2 separate regions of the Homo sapiens genome follow, and region 2 is linked to region 1. Evidence: promoter capture Hi-C in 16 types of primary human blood cells and fetal thymus (Javierre and others, 2016). All regions are on one chromosome and are shown on one strand. The core of a region is centred on a gene start or on the middle of the fragment in contact, and the rest is flanking DNA. Distances in the headings are between cores, read along the strand shown. Region 1 holds the start of ABHD2 (abhydrolase domain containing 2, acylglycerol lipase). Region 2 holds the start of LINC01586 (long intergenic non-protein coding RNA 1586).

The links. The method cuts DNA at HindIII sites, captures the fragments that hold promoters and counts their contacts. A CHiCAGO score of 5 or more calls a contact.
Region 2: a fragment that was not itself captured here is called in contact with the fragment with the promoter of ABHD2 in region 1 in 3 of 17 cell types (total B cells, total CD8 T cells and naive B cells); the score reaches 5.8 in total B cells.

What each region holds. Positions count from the first base shown.
Region 1 is chr15:89,084,955-89,091,900 of GRCh38, forward strand. ABHD2 (abhydrolase domain containing 2, acylglycerol lipase) reads left to right here and starts at 3,502. Exons shown (of 11, transcript NM_152924.5): 1 at 3,502-3,609. LOC124903573 reads right to left here. Exons shown (of 7, transcript XM_047433432.1): 4 at 6,181-6,329; 5 at 3,881-3,978; 6 at 3,114-3,732; 7 at 2,607-2,987. The coding sequence ends at 2,773. RefSeq lists enhancers at 2,265-2,910, 3,521-3,700, 3,642-4,161. The HindIII fragment of the contact is 11,698 bases long and covers 1-5,150 here.
Region 2 is chr15:88,604,895-88,612,623 of GRCh38, forward strand. It overlaps LINC01586 (long intergenic non-protein coding RNA 1586), which reads right to left and starts at 216. Exons shown (of 3, transcript NR_120370.1): 1 at 1-216. MIR1179 (microRNA 1179) reads left to right here and starts at 3,213; the gene lies at 3,213-3,303. MIR7-2 (microRNA 7-2) reads left to right here and starts at 6,931; the gene lies at 6,931-7,040. It overlaps MIR3529 (microRNA 3529), which reads right to left and starts at 7,030; the gene lies at 6,953-7,030. It also overlaps a transcript of AEN not described here. RefSeq lists an enhancer at 1-182 and a silencer at 896-1,333. The HindIII fragment of the contact is 1,684 bases long and covers 4,510-6,193 here.

The DNA of each region.
Region 1 (6,946 bases), core at 2,252-4,751:
GAGCTTCCAAATCCCCTTTCTCTGAACCATCCCCCGAGGACACAGAATAACAAAAATGACAAACTGAGTGAATTGCTGATTTTCCTTAAAAGAATAAATAGAACATATTATCTGCTCCAACCACTGCTCCCTGCTGTCTCCCAGAGTACCTTGACTTTCTCAGGTTAGTAAATCCTGCAGAGGCCCCAGTTGAGTTAGAAGCAGTTCTGCTTTAATGAAGTCCTGCAGCTTTGGCCATCCCAGAAGGTGACTGGGGCATACCCTCTCCCTTGTTCTTTTTTATTACAAGGTACTGTCACGGTTTTGAAAATTCACTTTACAGCCACATCCCAACACCTGCTTATCTCAGGCCAAGGCTCACCAAATCCTCAATCCCAACGGGCCACTAAACTTGAAGGCAAAAATAAGTCCATTTTGTCTCCTAAATGGCCTCCCTCAGAAATGATTTATAGAATGAAATAATATGATTAAACAGAATATGGCAAGACTGCAAGCAGAAGGGAGGAAACAGAAACCAGAGACAATTAAGGAAACAGTTCTGTGTGCTGGGAAATGATAATGGATCATTCTTTAAGCCTGCCAGAGCTGCAGAGAAGATGCCCGGATCCTTTTACTCTTCCTCCTCTTCCTGAGCTCAGTCTGTGCCTCTTTTTGAGCCTCTGTGACATAATTGTGTTTTAGAATTCCTGAACTGGAAAGATGTCCTTTTCTGGAACTGGTGGCTGAACCTATGTTCCTGAGATGGGAGAAAAAAGCCATTTACACAATGGCGAGCCCATCTGCAATCTACTCCTAACAGCTGCTTTTTGTGGCTCTGAATCAAGTTGGAGAAATCATCCTGGATCTCAGGAGCCACTTCATGCTTTTCAGGGCCTAACAAGACATCTCACTTTCCCTTAGCAAACACAGGCAGAAGCAAACCTGTATTGGGCTGGGCCTATTTCCGTAACATGCATGCAGCCATGTGTATGGCTACCAAGCAGCACTGTTTAAAGACAAGAACCAGAAAACTGTGGATCAGAACCAAATGTGTACATAGATATGTGTACACACCCCTCCAAAACTAGTGACAAATCTTTTTTGTTTTTTTTTTTCTGAGACAGAGTCTCACTCTGTCATCCAAGCTGGAATGCAGTGGTGCAATCTCACTGCAGCCTCTGCTTCCTGGGTTCAAACGATTATCCTGCCTCAGCCTCCTGAGTAGCTGGGATTACAGGTGTGTGCCACCATGCCCAGCTAATTTTGTATTTTTAGTAGAGATGGGGTTTCACCATGATGGCCAGGCTGGTCTGGAACTGCTGACCTCAGGTGATCCTCCTGCCTTGGCCTCCCAAAGTGCTGGGATTACAGGCTTGAGCCACTGTGCCCAGCCTATTTTTTAAATTATTATTAATTTTTAATTGACAAAATTTGTATATATTTATGATGTACAACATGCTTTACTTATTTATGTTTATCATGTTATTATGTTTATTTGTCAAACAAGGTCTCACTCTGTGGCCCAGGCTGGAGTGCAGTGGTGCGATCACAGCTCACTGCAGCCTCAACTTCCTGGGCTCAAACAACCCTCCTGCCTCAGCCTCCCCACTAGCTGGGACTACAGGCATGCACCACCACATCAGGCTAAATTTTAAATTTTTTGTAGAGACGGGGTCTCACTATGTTGCCCAGGTTGGTCTCAGACTCCTGGGCTCCGCCTCAGCTTCCCAAAATGTTGGATTACAGGCGTGAGCCACTGTACCGGTCCATGTTTTGATACATGTATACATTGTGGGATAGCTACACCAAGCTAGTTAACATATGCATTACCTTATATACTTATCTAGTGATAATCTAAAGCTCTTTTTTGGAAGTCCAAACTGTTTTAACTCAGAGTCAGGACGATGGGGTTCATCACTAAGAGACTTTGCTACTGAAGCCTGGGTTTTTCTTTTCCAAGATGAAAGAGAATACAGAGGAATATATAAACACTGAGATGAAACCTTTTTTTTTCAAGGTAACATGACAACTGAATGAAAAATAGAGCAATGGCAAAGGATTCTTTCTTCTCCTTCACTCTGATGTACCATGGCTGTGAGTTCTTTCAAAGACAGACACAAAGGGTCTGGGGCTACATTCAGGCCTGAGAAGCTATTTCTGTCCACACTCTGTGATGTCTACACCTTCAGAATGGGGAATGGGTTTCAGGGGTCTCTGACAGATAGAGCTCATGCAATGATTTCTGGTCCGGTGCTGATCAGCCTTCAAAGGATGTTATTTGGTTACGCTCCATAAAACTTGAGCCAGCCCACTGTTCCTTGTCACAACCTGAAATATGTTGGGAAAAATTTACATGGTAACAAATGCCACTTCCCTTCTCTGACTAAATCGCTCCTCTCATTTCATCCCCTGCTCCCTCTCTCCGAGCCCTATGGGGCCTTGGTAGGGTGGCCTTGTCTGCCCTACAGGGGTTGCATTTCAAGTCGCTCAAGTGTTCTATTCTTGGTACACGACATGCCATTGCAAAAGCAGTTTCAGGCTCATAGAATTTTAGAAATGGGCCTAGTTTCCCAGCCGGATGAGGTGAGTGGGTGATGGGGGAAGAATCAGCCTTGATTGAATGCCTGTTGAGTGCCAGCCACTGTTGGCATTTATCAGAGTTTATTTAATCTTCTCATCAACTACTATTGTTACCCTCAGTTGCCAAGTGAAGGGAGCATGCGGGAAGGTTAAGTGACTTGCCCAAGCCCACACAACCGGTAGGAGCCCCAATTCCAGGCCCTAGTTCCAAGGCTACATTCTTCCAGGCGGCCTCCAACTGGGTTGGTTAAGGGTTGAAAGGACAGTGGGACAATAACTGAGGCCCGTATTGCCCAGAGCGTCCCCATCCCCCGTCCGGAGCTGGAAGAGGCCATAGACCGCTGCCTCCACATCTTTTCCTCTCCTTCGGGTTCGGTGACTCACGACCCTTCTTCCTCTCTCCCGGGATATGACCTCAAATTTCACCCCTGCGAAATTTGAGTACACGTGAGTCAGTCAGTCGGCCTGGACCCATAAGAGCCCCAGCTGAGCTACCAGCAGCTGAGCTACCAGCCGACCTCATTCCTCTGAGCCCAGTCGACAGCTGACCTTACCCAGCCCTCTAAAGCAGTTTGCGGTCACAATTACCCGTCTCTTCACCCCGCCCCCATCGACATCAAACACGACCCACCTTCTAGCCCTCCTCCCCTTTCCCCGCCCACTCCGGGCTGGCCTTATCCAGTAGCGTCTGGGTCCCTGGACTAAAGCCGTCAAATGTAACCAATTGCTGAGGAGCTCTCCCCTAAGAATCCCGCCTCCACTCTGAGGAACAGCTTCGCTGATCAATGGATCCCCTCCTAGACGCAATGAGCGCGCGGGGCAAGTGGAGAAGCGGCTGAACTGCCCAATGAACAAGCGGTTTCCGTGGTTAGGGGCGTGGCAGAAGCGGTCGTCAGGGGCGTGGCGGCAGTTACTTGGGCGGGGCCGGTAGCGGCGGGAGCTGCACTGGCCAGGGGTTCCGGCTGTATATCCATGAGCGCCGCTGGCAGCCGGGGAGCTGCAGGAACCAGACTGGGGGCGAGCTGAGCACCTGTAGTCAATCACACGCAGGTAAAGCCACGGCCGAGCGAGCTCCGCGGAGCGGGGATCGCACCCCGGACCCGTCGAACCGAATCTCCGAGCCCCGAGGTCCCCGGCGTAGCTCGGCCCATCACGCCGCAGCCTGAGGGGATCCTGGGGGGCCTGTCATCTGGCGCCGTGGGGGTCCCAGGGGCTGGCTTGCCCAGTGGTGGGGACAGCCCAGATCGCGGCGGGGGATACGCCTTCCTGAGGCCCTTTGTCCCCTTCTGCCCGAGGAACCGAGGTTGGGGACAACCCCGACCGCGGCCTTTCCCCCATTGGTGCTCACTCCTGGGTCTTCAGGGGCCTGGGGAGGGGTCTGCCGGTTCAGGCTCGGCGAAGAAGGTCCGGGATCCGCACCTGGAAGGAGAGGGCCGAGGGGCCTGATTACAGCCCGAGATACCCGAGAGGCCTCTGTGTTTCGGGGCTCCAGGGGCTCACGCAGGACCAGTGGGTTTAAGTTCTAGAAAGGCAGCTTTTGACCCACTTGGAAGCACATTTACCGAGTTCGGCCCCGCGACCGGCACTGTTCTAGGCCCTTCGTGAGCTTTTCCCACAGCTAGAGCTGTCCAGCAGCGCAGGAGGCTGCCTGCCAGGCCGGGCAGCTAGCGCCTCGACCTTGGCGATGTCCAAGCAGTGGCCTGATGACAGCCACCTGTGTCGGATGCTTAGGACTCCCAAGGGAGGACTGCATGACCCATCTGTAAGGGCCTTCTCTACCCACAAATGCACTCTAAGTGGCCTTTGATGCCTAGCTTGAGAAGAGTACTTCTGGGGGTCCATTAGGTTCCAAGTGGCTGTTGAATTCACCCATAATGAATTTTGAGGTTTCAGCTCTCAAGAGTGGGTGTTAGCAAAGAGACTGGATTATACAAAAAGATAGAGGTTTATTTAGCCACTGTGAAACTCCTTGTATTTGAACTACCATGGACCGCTCTCTTAATCTTCCCAATCTCTCTTTTTTGGTTGCTGGACCTCCAGTTTGTCAGTTTCACCTGCATTCCAGTAACCAAATCCAAAGGCATGTTCCAAGAACAGGCTCCACAGAGGGACCTGGAGAGACTGCAGGTTTGGCAGAGTCAACAAGATCTGTGCCCAGAGCTTTTCGAAGGCCGTTTCCTTACAGCCACATTAAGCAGAGTCCAAAAGAGAAATCCTTCACTACCCTCTGTCATTTGCCGGAATAGAGAGAACATAATAATCTAAAGGTCAGGAGGCAGAGAAAGAATCTTAACACACCTTGCTGTGTGTTTTAGGATGAATTAATCTTTGAACATCTAGTCAGAAAGCAGTCCATATACAGCTGGTAGTCAGCACGGACTGTGACATTTTAGAGCTGAAGGCACCTTAGATAGAGCTCATCTCTATCTAAGTCTAATTAGGTGGACTCTCATTCAGTCTCCTCAATGCACAGGTGAGGAAACTGAGGCCTGGGGTGGTCACAGGGCTGGTTGGTCATCACAGGCCCATGACTAAGGGTTGATCTCTTGACTGTATTTAGATCTAGCCAGTGCATGACTTATTTCACTCCAAGCTTAGTTTGCCCATTCTCAGTGTTTTAAGTTCTAGGGGAGTCCAGAGAGGTTAGGAGGACAGATTTTGGTGCCTGAGTGCCTGGATTTGAATCCCAGCCCTGCCTCTTACTGGCTGTACAACCTTGGGCAAGCTACTTAACTTCTCTGTGCCTCTGTTTCCTCACCTCTAAAACAGAAATAATAATGATACTTATGTTAGAAGATTGTTTTGAGAAGTGCATGGAGTTACTACATCTGAAGCATTTAGAACAGTACCTGGCACAGGGTAAGCACAATAGATTTGCTAGATATGATATTCTGTTGCCTTTTTGTACATTTTTCTTCATATCCACCACCCAATACTCTATCAAGAGCTAATTTTTCCCCCAGTCCCCTTCCCCCCACCCCCAAATTCATTTAACATATTCCAGATTTCATTTTAACACAGACAGCTGCAAGGGGTTTCCAAGTCACGTTGCATTTTATACCTTACTTATTTTTGTGATTCAGGTAATTTAGTTTCTATGTTAGTTCCCCCTTGCAGTTACATTCTTCTTAGGCTCTGAACCCTTTAAAATTATCGTTAAAAGCAGGCAGTGAGGGGTGGGAATCCCTCGAAATGGTAAAGTCCTGGATGATACCCGTGTCCATGGTGTCCTTCCAAATATGTATTCCCTCTCTTCAGCCCTCCTCCCAAGCGATGAGTGTGATGCAGCTTGATTCTAAATGGATGAACATTTTTAGATTAAGATTTTATGAGCCACTGTATTAAGTGCTTTTCGGAAGTTCAGGGATCATGTGTCAACTGCATTTAAGGAAGTTACTTAGTCATTCGAATAGGGGGAGCACCAGCAGCGCCTGCCTGGCCTGGCAGAAGCAAAAGTGTGTGACTGATCCGTGCTGGCAATCTAGCTGGTTCACTGGTTTATCTGTGTTTTTCCTGTTCTTTTCCAAAGCTTGAAATAAACCAGATGGCAAGTACAAGGGAATGGTCTTTTTCCTCTCATTTTAGTCAGGGTCGTTCACTTTTTTCCCTTTTTACTCTCACCTTCATTTCCTTTATCGCCTGCGTGGGTCTGACAAATAGGCACTCTCAGTGTGCCAGCCAATTCCCTTTTGATGAAAAGATGCCTGCCACTTTCATTTTTTGCAGGAATCCAGTCACCTTTGATTTTCTCTTCTGTTTTTACTTGTTTTCTAGATTGAACCAAAGATTATCACTTCATTAAATGGCACCTTCTCATGCTTTATTTTTCTTGAGTTGATTCTGAATTTCGGTTTTTGTTTAAGCTGTTCTAGAGATCAGCCATTTTAGAATAATAGTTTTCATTTCTTTGCTTGTGTATTAATATGGGCCCCTTTCTCTCTTTCTCACTCTCTTTTCTCAGTATTTTGGTGGATGAGCTTCTCATTTGCTGTTACTCGTTGCTTTAAGCATTTACGCCTTTTCCTGGTAATCTCCGGCAGGACCCATAACCTCTGTAGTGGTTCTCACTGCCCTTGTTCAGAGCTCCTGCCCCGAGCAGGAAATAATTTCTTTGGTCTTATGGGAGACAGGGGTAGAGTCTGTCTTATTTTTTGCCTAAAATCTGGCTCTTTTAAAAGCCCCAGGAGAGAGACATTTCCAATATAATTGAATTTTGTGTGGCAGAATTTCTACCATGACCTACAGCTTACAGTATTCCCATTTTTATTGCATTGTGAGTTTTGAGTACTCCATGACCAGTTTCAGAGTATAGATGATGTGGGGCATGAGTTGCTTTAGCCTTTCTGTTTCATCTTGGGCTAAGCTATCCCCAGGAACAGAGCAATGA
Region 2 (7,729 bases), core at 4,102-6,601, 480 kb before region 1:
GAAAGAAACGGAGAGCAAGTGGTCTTCCTCCCTAGCCGCGGCGACCCATGCCAGGTAAAAATCCCAGCCGAGGTCCCCGGTCCCGTCCCCTCCTCCAGGTCAAGGGCTCGGGACTGGAGAAGCAGCCAACTGGAGCTGATATTCGGGAAGCTAAGCCTGAGGCTGCTCTGGAGGGCCGGAGAAGCGAGCGGCCAGGCTTGGCACCCGCCAAATGTGCCTTGCCAAAATGAAGAGGAAGGAAGGCGACTCCGGAGCCCAGCAGGTGAGCGCTCCTACGGGATGCTGGGCAGGCTAGAGGTGTGGGGGCGTCTGGTTCCAGTACCTGCCCGGGGCGACGCGGAAACCCAGCTTGCAGTTTGTTTCGCTCGGTCCCGCGCCCAGTAGGAGAAAGACGGCCCCACAGCCTCGCGGGAGCCGGCTCTCGCAACCCAGCCGCCCCAAGCCCGCCGTCGCCCCTCCTCCCGCGCTTCTCGCCCCTGATTCTAGATGCAGCTGACTTGTTGCATGCAGAAGAGCAGCTGGGTTCGGCGTTCCAAGCCTCTCCTCTTTGCTTTGCCTGCCACCAGATCTGAGCGCCAGGCTGGCCAGCACCCAGAGAGCCCAGAGCCGCAGGAAAAAATGTGAAAAGTACCAGGAGACCACTGGGTAATCGCCCCAGTGCAAAGGGCCTTTCTTCCTACCCACCGCAATTGCAGCAAATAACTCCAGGGAGGGGAATCAGAGGCGCCGGGGATTGCGCCCTGGGAGAGCCCTATCTGCTGAAAGAGAGCGCCTAATGCCGTTACTTCCCAGTGTAGCCTTTCCACTCGGCAGACCAAGCGCCTCTCCTTCGAGTCGCTACCCGCTTGGAGTCGGCTCAGAATCAGGCTGCTAAAGGTCCCTGGAGCCCCTCCCCCAGCGAATCCGAGCCTGCAGCTTCAGCACCAGAGGCTGGACAGCGCCCCGGCCCTAGGGTGCCCATGGTCGGTGCCTGCGCACGGCTCGGCCTCCCAGCCCACGCCACTTGCGCTCGCGGCCCCTCAGACCCCACGCGGAGGAGGTCAGGAGGTGACACAGGTTCGCGGAAGAAAGCGGGACTCATCTTCCTCATTTCTCCAGGGATTTAGGTGTGGGATTCTAGGAGAGCATTCTCTCTCGCTCTGGCCACGACCAGTGGAAAAACTTGGCGCCAAATTTAGGCAGTGGTGCGGGGAGCAGAGGCACGATTGCAGGCGGTGAGCAAAGGGGCAAGCGGGACAGAGGATCTACTGTGAGCCCCAGGCTCTGGTGTTCCGTGAAAAATCGCCACATTTAAATCCTGCGCTCCCCCGTGCTCCCTCTCGCTCTCTCCCCCTTCCTTTTTCCCTTCCTTCCTTCCTCCCCGCGCTCTCTGTATGCCTTAATAGGAGTGAGTGAAAGGGAAAGAGTGGGGTGGAGGGAGAAGATATTGAAGCCGAGGTAAGAAGCACATTTTATCTAGGTCTCAAAACTCAAGCGTGGATGAAATCTGTTCAAAAAGAACATCAAGGTACGCGTTTTTTTACCCAAAGGAGCCCAAAGTGACCTTTGTATGAGGAGCAAAGATTATTGTTTGGCCAAGAAGGGGAAAGATAGCGGAGGGAGAGGCGCTATCACAAAAGGGCTAACGGAGGTGGAGAAGGAAGGGAAAGGACTTGGCACTAGCATGCTTACCAGGCAACCAGTCGCAGCACCTGCCTCCTGTTGCCTTGGTTACGGTGGGTGGCGGGGCTTTGGCCACTGATAATCAGTGAGCACCTTGACTATTTAAAATATCTCCTGGGGAGCCCCTGCCTTGTCTGGGCTAGGTGAGAGGCACATCGATCCCGCGTAAGGCCCCGTCTGGGGAAATCCTGGAAGATGTTTGTTTTTTGTTTGTTTGTTTTTATTTTAAGTAAAGGCGCATAGCAGAGCAACTTACCTTTCCACCACTACAGTCATCCCCTCCCCCCTCCACCCCATGGCTTCATTTCTCCAGGATTTACAATTTGGGCTTTTATATTTTTCATTTAGTCCTTTATACTGAAGGAGCTGAGTTCCTATCCCCACCCTCTCTTTTTCCCCCTTAAAATGAGAAAAAAAAATTGCTTTTCCTGGATGTACAGGAGGGAGACAAGGAAATTGTCCAGGGGTGTCTACTGTAGAGAGAAACTTTCTCCCTGGTTTGATAGTCATCCCTGCCCCACTAAACCACTCCCCTCAGGGGAGAGAGGGCTGAATTCTGGATTACCCCCACTTCTCACCTTGCCCCATAGACCACATAGAAAGCACAGGTAGAGGGAAACGTGTCTCCCTTAGCAGATGGACACTAGCATCACTCTCATTTGATTCCTCAAGATTCTCTTCTCTTCTTCCTCCCCAGCATCGCCTTCATAATTAGCAAATACAGCACCTAAAGCTTCTAATCCTCTGAGTTTTTCTGTTTCCCTTGATTGACAAACATTGACTCCACTTTCACCTGTCAGCCTTGCCCTGCCTATGTCCATTAGAAACATCTGGGTAGGAAATTATTTTACTCATAATTTTCCAAAGGCAGCTGTAACATTCTCAGAATGATTTGAGAGGAAATCGCTAGCAAGTTACCAGAACAGCCTGTGCTCTGTGCACTGTTTCATCTCAAATAAGTCTAAGTGCCATGAACGTTCTCTTTCCCGAAAAACAGCAACAATAACAACAACAAAAAGAAGTTTGTTTTAAACTGAGATATTACTTGACAACACGGGGTTGGAGAACATTTCTGTTTCAGGCAGGAACTGTGATATCTTTATCTGTGATGCCCTGAACCATAAACACACAGGTCTTTTCTTTTCTCCTCTTGTTCTCTTCTTTTCTCTCCATTTCCTTCATTTATTATTAATATAAGAATTTTTATTCATTATAATTTCAGCATAAGTTTAAAAGGTCAAAAATTCGCTCGGTGAACTGACTTGATAGTTTTGCGGGTATTTACATTAAAATGCTTTTAAAATGCTTTTCTCTCCCATGTTACTATAGAAACTTCCCTTTAGACCAGACCAGACAGCTGGTCTGCTTTTTGTACTTTTCTTCCCAAAGAAGTGCTTTCCTTTATGAATTGTCCGGGGCAGCTATCATTGATCACATCAGTAATGTCCCATAGCAACAGTTGTGTGGTTTTTTTTAATTATTATTCACTTTCTGCTTATTTTCTTTATGGACAAAGGGTCTACTTTCAAGAAGATAACTGAGCTCTTATTGGCTGGAAAGGAAGAAGCATTCTTTCATTGGTTGGTGTGTATTGCCTTGTCAACCAATAAGAGGATGCCATTTATCCTTTTCTGACTAGCTGAGTGAGCAGGGTACACAGAAGGATTGAATCTGCCTTAGTTCCATCCAGTAGCAAAGGACAGAACTCAGAGTCCTGGACTCAGGATCTGGAATTGACTTTGGCTAATCCAGATTGCACTGACTTGCAAGGATGACATTTTTTACCTACCTATTCGCAGCTTACTTCAACATACCTGCCTTATACATTGTCCTATGGCTTTTTTCCCCCTTCATTTTAGGAGATACTGTGATCATCTTTCCAAGTCAGTGCAGGTTATTGTTACCAGCACACTGAGGGTCCAGAGAATTTTGTGATTTCCCCTAAAAATAGATAATTGGTCCTCATTATTAGAGATTTGGTGAAAACTTTTGGAGATGAAGATGGAAAGCTAGAAGTCGGAAGAACTGCATTGCTTGTGATGCAGAATGGATATCTCAGCTTGTGGATTCACTCTACTCAGCTCTCAGCTTTGGTGTTTTGTGTTTGGTGTTTGGTGTCCTCTTCACTTTGATTTTTATTTGTCTGTTTTTCCACTTTCATTCTTCAGAGCTGCGCTTTTGGCCTGAATTTTCAGTGACAAATAGAAAAGCTGAATGGATGGAGACAATGACTCTTTAATTCAATGTAAGAGCTGACTCATCGCTTCCCAGGAAGACTTGTTGCAGGTAGGTGATGGTTATCCTGGAACTGGAGATTATCCCAGTCCTTTGTTGCACTGGCAATGGGCAGGTCTGTTTATTTTTCTCTTTTTTCCTGCACCAAATAGTCCTACTCAGGGATGCTGGCATTGGTCCCCACTTCCCTAAAAGAGGGGAAGTCAAAGTTCTTTCCCTTTCAGGACAGAAACTCTCTGATAACAGCCCGGAAGAAGTCTTAATGTGAGTACAGACCACTTCAGTCAGTCTTTTTTTGGTTCTTGGCAGGAGGGGATACTGGGAATGGATAGATGCCTGATCATCACGGTGCTATCAAGAGCCATATTCTTTATTGGCCCCATCTGTGCCAGAGTTCAGCGGTACCATGAGCCCTAGTGCTAGACTATTAGCCCTTCAATATTAGGAGCTATGTCTTGTACCCCTTTGATTCCCTCAAACTCAGTTGTGCTTAAAGTAGGGCTGAACAAATGTTTGAACTAAATCCTACTGGCTAGTATTAAGACAAATAGCTTATCTTCTTCTTTATGAGAATGGTAGCTCTAGACCTGGACCCTCCCCCTCCAAATCAAAAGCTTCATATTCCCTAGCCCTCTTCACAAAAGATAAATTAAGGCTCAGTTAATTGTTACCATGGTAACATGGAGTGGCCACATTGAGGATCCCCATCATCCATTACTGTCATGAGGTAAAAGAGAGGAGGGGTTTGGGATCATTGTCATGGAGGAAACCATGGAAACAAGCGTTGCTAAGGGAACAGCTCTAAATTCAGAGGAAAGAAATTAGAAGTGGGGAGTGGAAGTTGGTGGGCTCAAGGGCAGGTCATTTTTTCAAAATATATTTCTTTGAGACTACAGCAGCCTCTTTTATTGCTTGCATCTTCTCCCAATTCAGATAGAGCCCAGAATTAAAGAATTTTGAAAACTAGGGCCACAATCAGTTCAAATTCATCTTCATTGGATCTGTAAGGAAAAAGCCAATGAAAATGGATTTACCCTGTTCACACCTCACAATCCTACTCTGTCTCTGAACTCTGCTTCTTTGCCAACCAGTTTCATTTATCACGGGCCAGGCTGTGCGCGAGGCACTTGGAAGAATAATGAGTGAGAGTCCCTGCTCTCATAGTGAGCTTCTAGCAGGGCAGTGGTTTGGGTGGTGGCTTTAGGGCCAGGGTTGCTCATGTAAGCTAGATCAGTCAGTCCTGCAAGCTGACATCCAGAGAGATGCTGTGGTTCTCTCCAAACTCTCTTTGTGGTGCATTTTAGCTTGTCTATTACTTCTCAAAGTTTATTTGCCAGGTCCCTAAGAAAGGCCTGTTTTTCCTAGAAATACCTAGGGTGCTAAGCTCTCCTATTAACCAAGGGGTTACCTTAGTTAGCATTGTTCTCTAATGGTACCCTCAGGTCCTTGTCTCTAAAACAATTCAAGGTTGAAGGACTAACCCTCCTCTCAACAGTGGCAAAGAGGCACGGGGCTATTTTTTTTTTTTTTTTGTAAAAGAAATTAAAGACCACACATCCATCTCTGTTTCTTGATAGATTAAAGGATGGGGAAAGGAGGTCTCAGTTTTCTACAGCTGGGAATTTCAGAGCCAGCACCTCACTGCGGGGTAGACTGAAGAGGGTCATAAAGAGCCTCTGGGGGAGGAACACCTCTCCCTTACATCTTCCACAAAAGAACTTCTTGGTTTTTCTCAGACCCATGGCAGAGATGTGCCCTGTCTCAGGCTGACAGCTGGAAGGGGCTGGGACTCAGAGCTAGGTATTGCCAGTCTTCTCCATGACTCCCCCCACTCCTCCTGCTCCTGAGCGTCTCCATCACCAGGCAAGCCCCCACCCCCATTCTGGATAGAGAGAATAAACCCAAGGATGGAAGGGTGGGCTAAAGAGGAAGTGCTCACAATTAAAAAGAGAAAGAATTAAAAGCAGCACCAATAGGGAAGGGTAATTATCCTTCAGTTGCTGCAGAAATACAATTAGGGCCATGCTCTCTGAGCCGCCAGGATATTGTGGCTTTTGCTAATTAAGGAGCGGATGTGTCCTGCCAGCGCAATTAGAGGCTGGCCCAGGCAGCAGGGGCTTTGCCTCTCCTCCACCAGTGCCACACTGCAAGGGAAATTAACCAGGGAGCCCAGCGCTGTGCCTGCAGGGAGGGGATGACTGGGCCAGGATTCCACCAGCCTCCTGTCCACAACCATTTCCCCTTTTCCTCTTCCTGCTCTGCTTACCCCAGCACCACCACTCTGACTTCATTCTGAAGCTTCCAGGGCTCAGTAACCACAGGAAGAATTTTCACCATGGGCCATGCCCATAGGCTTCCAGAAGGGGGAGGCACCAGTAGAGAGGGGTCACCATTTCCAAGCTCTAGTTTCTCTTCTGCATGGTGGTTCAATGCTTTATGATTAGTAAAGGAAAGAGAGAAATGAGCCACTTGCCTGCTTCTCTTTAAAAATAATTCCCCTGTTTGTAAAGGAAATATGCTCAAATTGGGTGCAGTGGCTCACGTCTATAATCCCAGCACTTTGAGAGGCTGAGGCAGGAGGATCACTTGAGCCCAGGAGTTCAAGACCAGCCTGGGCAATATACTGAGACCTTGTCTTTACTAAAAAAAAAAAAAAAAAAAAAAAAATTAGCTGTAGTCTCAGCTACTAGGGAGGCTGAGGTGGAAGAATCACTTGAACACTCGAGTCTGGAAGGTTGAAGCTGGAGTGAGCTGTGATTGCACCACTGCACTACAGCCTGGGTGACAGAGCAAGACCCTGTCTCACCAAAACAAAACAAAACAACTGTGTCCATTATAGAAAGTAGAACACTCCAGAAAAAAGGGAAAAGTAAGAAAAAATAATTTCTCCAGGGAATTCTGAGGTGAGGAGAGGTGTTCAAAGATGAACTTAGTAATAGGAGCGGAGACAACGCCTCGCCTGAAGGAGCATCCAGACCGCTGACCTGGTGGCGAGGGGAGGGGGGTGGTCCTCGAACGCCTTGCAGAACTGGCCTGGATACAGAGTGGACCGGCTGGCCCCATCTGGAAGACTAGTGATTTTGTTGTTGTCTTACTGCGCTCAACAACAAATCCCAGTCTACCTAATGGTGCCAGCCATCGCAGCGGGGTGCAGGAAATGGGGGCAGCCCCCCTTTTTGGCTATCCTTCCACGTGTTCTTTTTTGTATCTTTTGTGTTTCCTAGAAAACATCTCAGGTCACCACCCTAAACACCCATCGGCAGACTCTTCCAGAAACATGGACAAACTATGGTGTGAGCAGGGAAGTGGGGCAGGGTCTCTGTTTTCAGGGAGCAGTGGACTGCTTCCATACCACTACCTGAAGGGCAGGGGGAGAAAAACCCTCCTTAATTACTAATTCCCCCAACAATCACTTTGGGGCACCTATAATGGAGGCACCTTGTGACTCCACATCCTGGGGCTCAGGGCCTCATTGTCTGTGGCCCGACAGCCACAGTGTATGCGGGCACCGAGAGGTATGCACTGGAGACCGAGGTTCCCGGATGTTCAGTGTACCTGGCAGCAGGGGGGACACACCTGACCTCGGAGCTTGTCTGGTGCCTGCTCCACAGCTGAGGGAGTGGACTTGTGTGTATGGAATTTCTTGGTCCCAGTACCTGCCTCTGTGCTGCTACATCCAGAGGTGTGGCCAAGGGAAAAAAGCCCAGTGCTTGGGGACCATCCCCCACTGTGGCAGGAATACAATTAGAATTAGTGATCAGAAAAAGCATTTCCCAGCCTTTTATTTATTTATTTATTTATTTATTTATTTATTTATTTATTTATTTTTGAG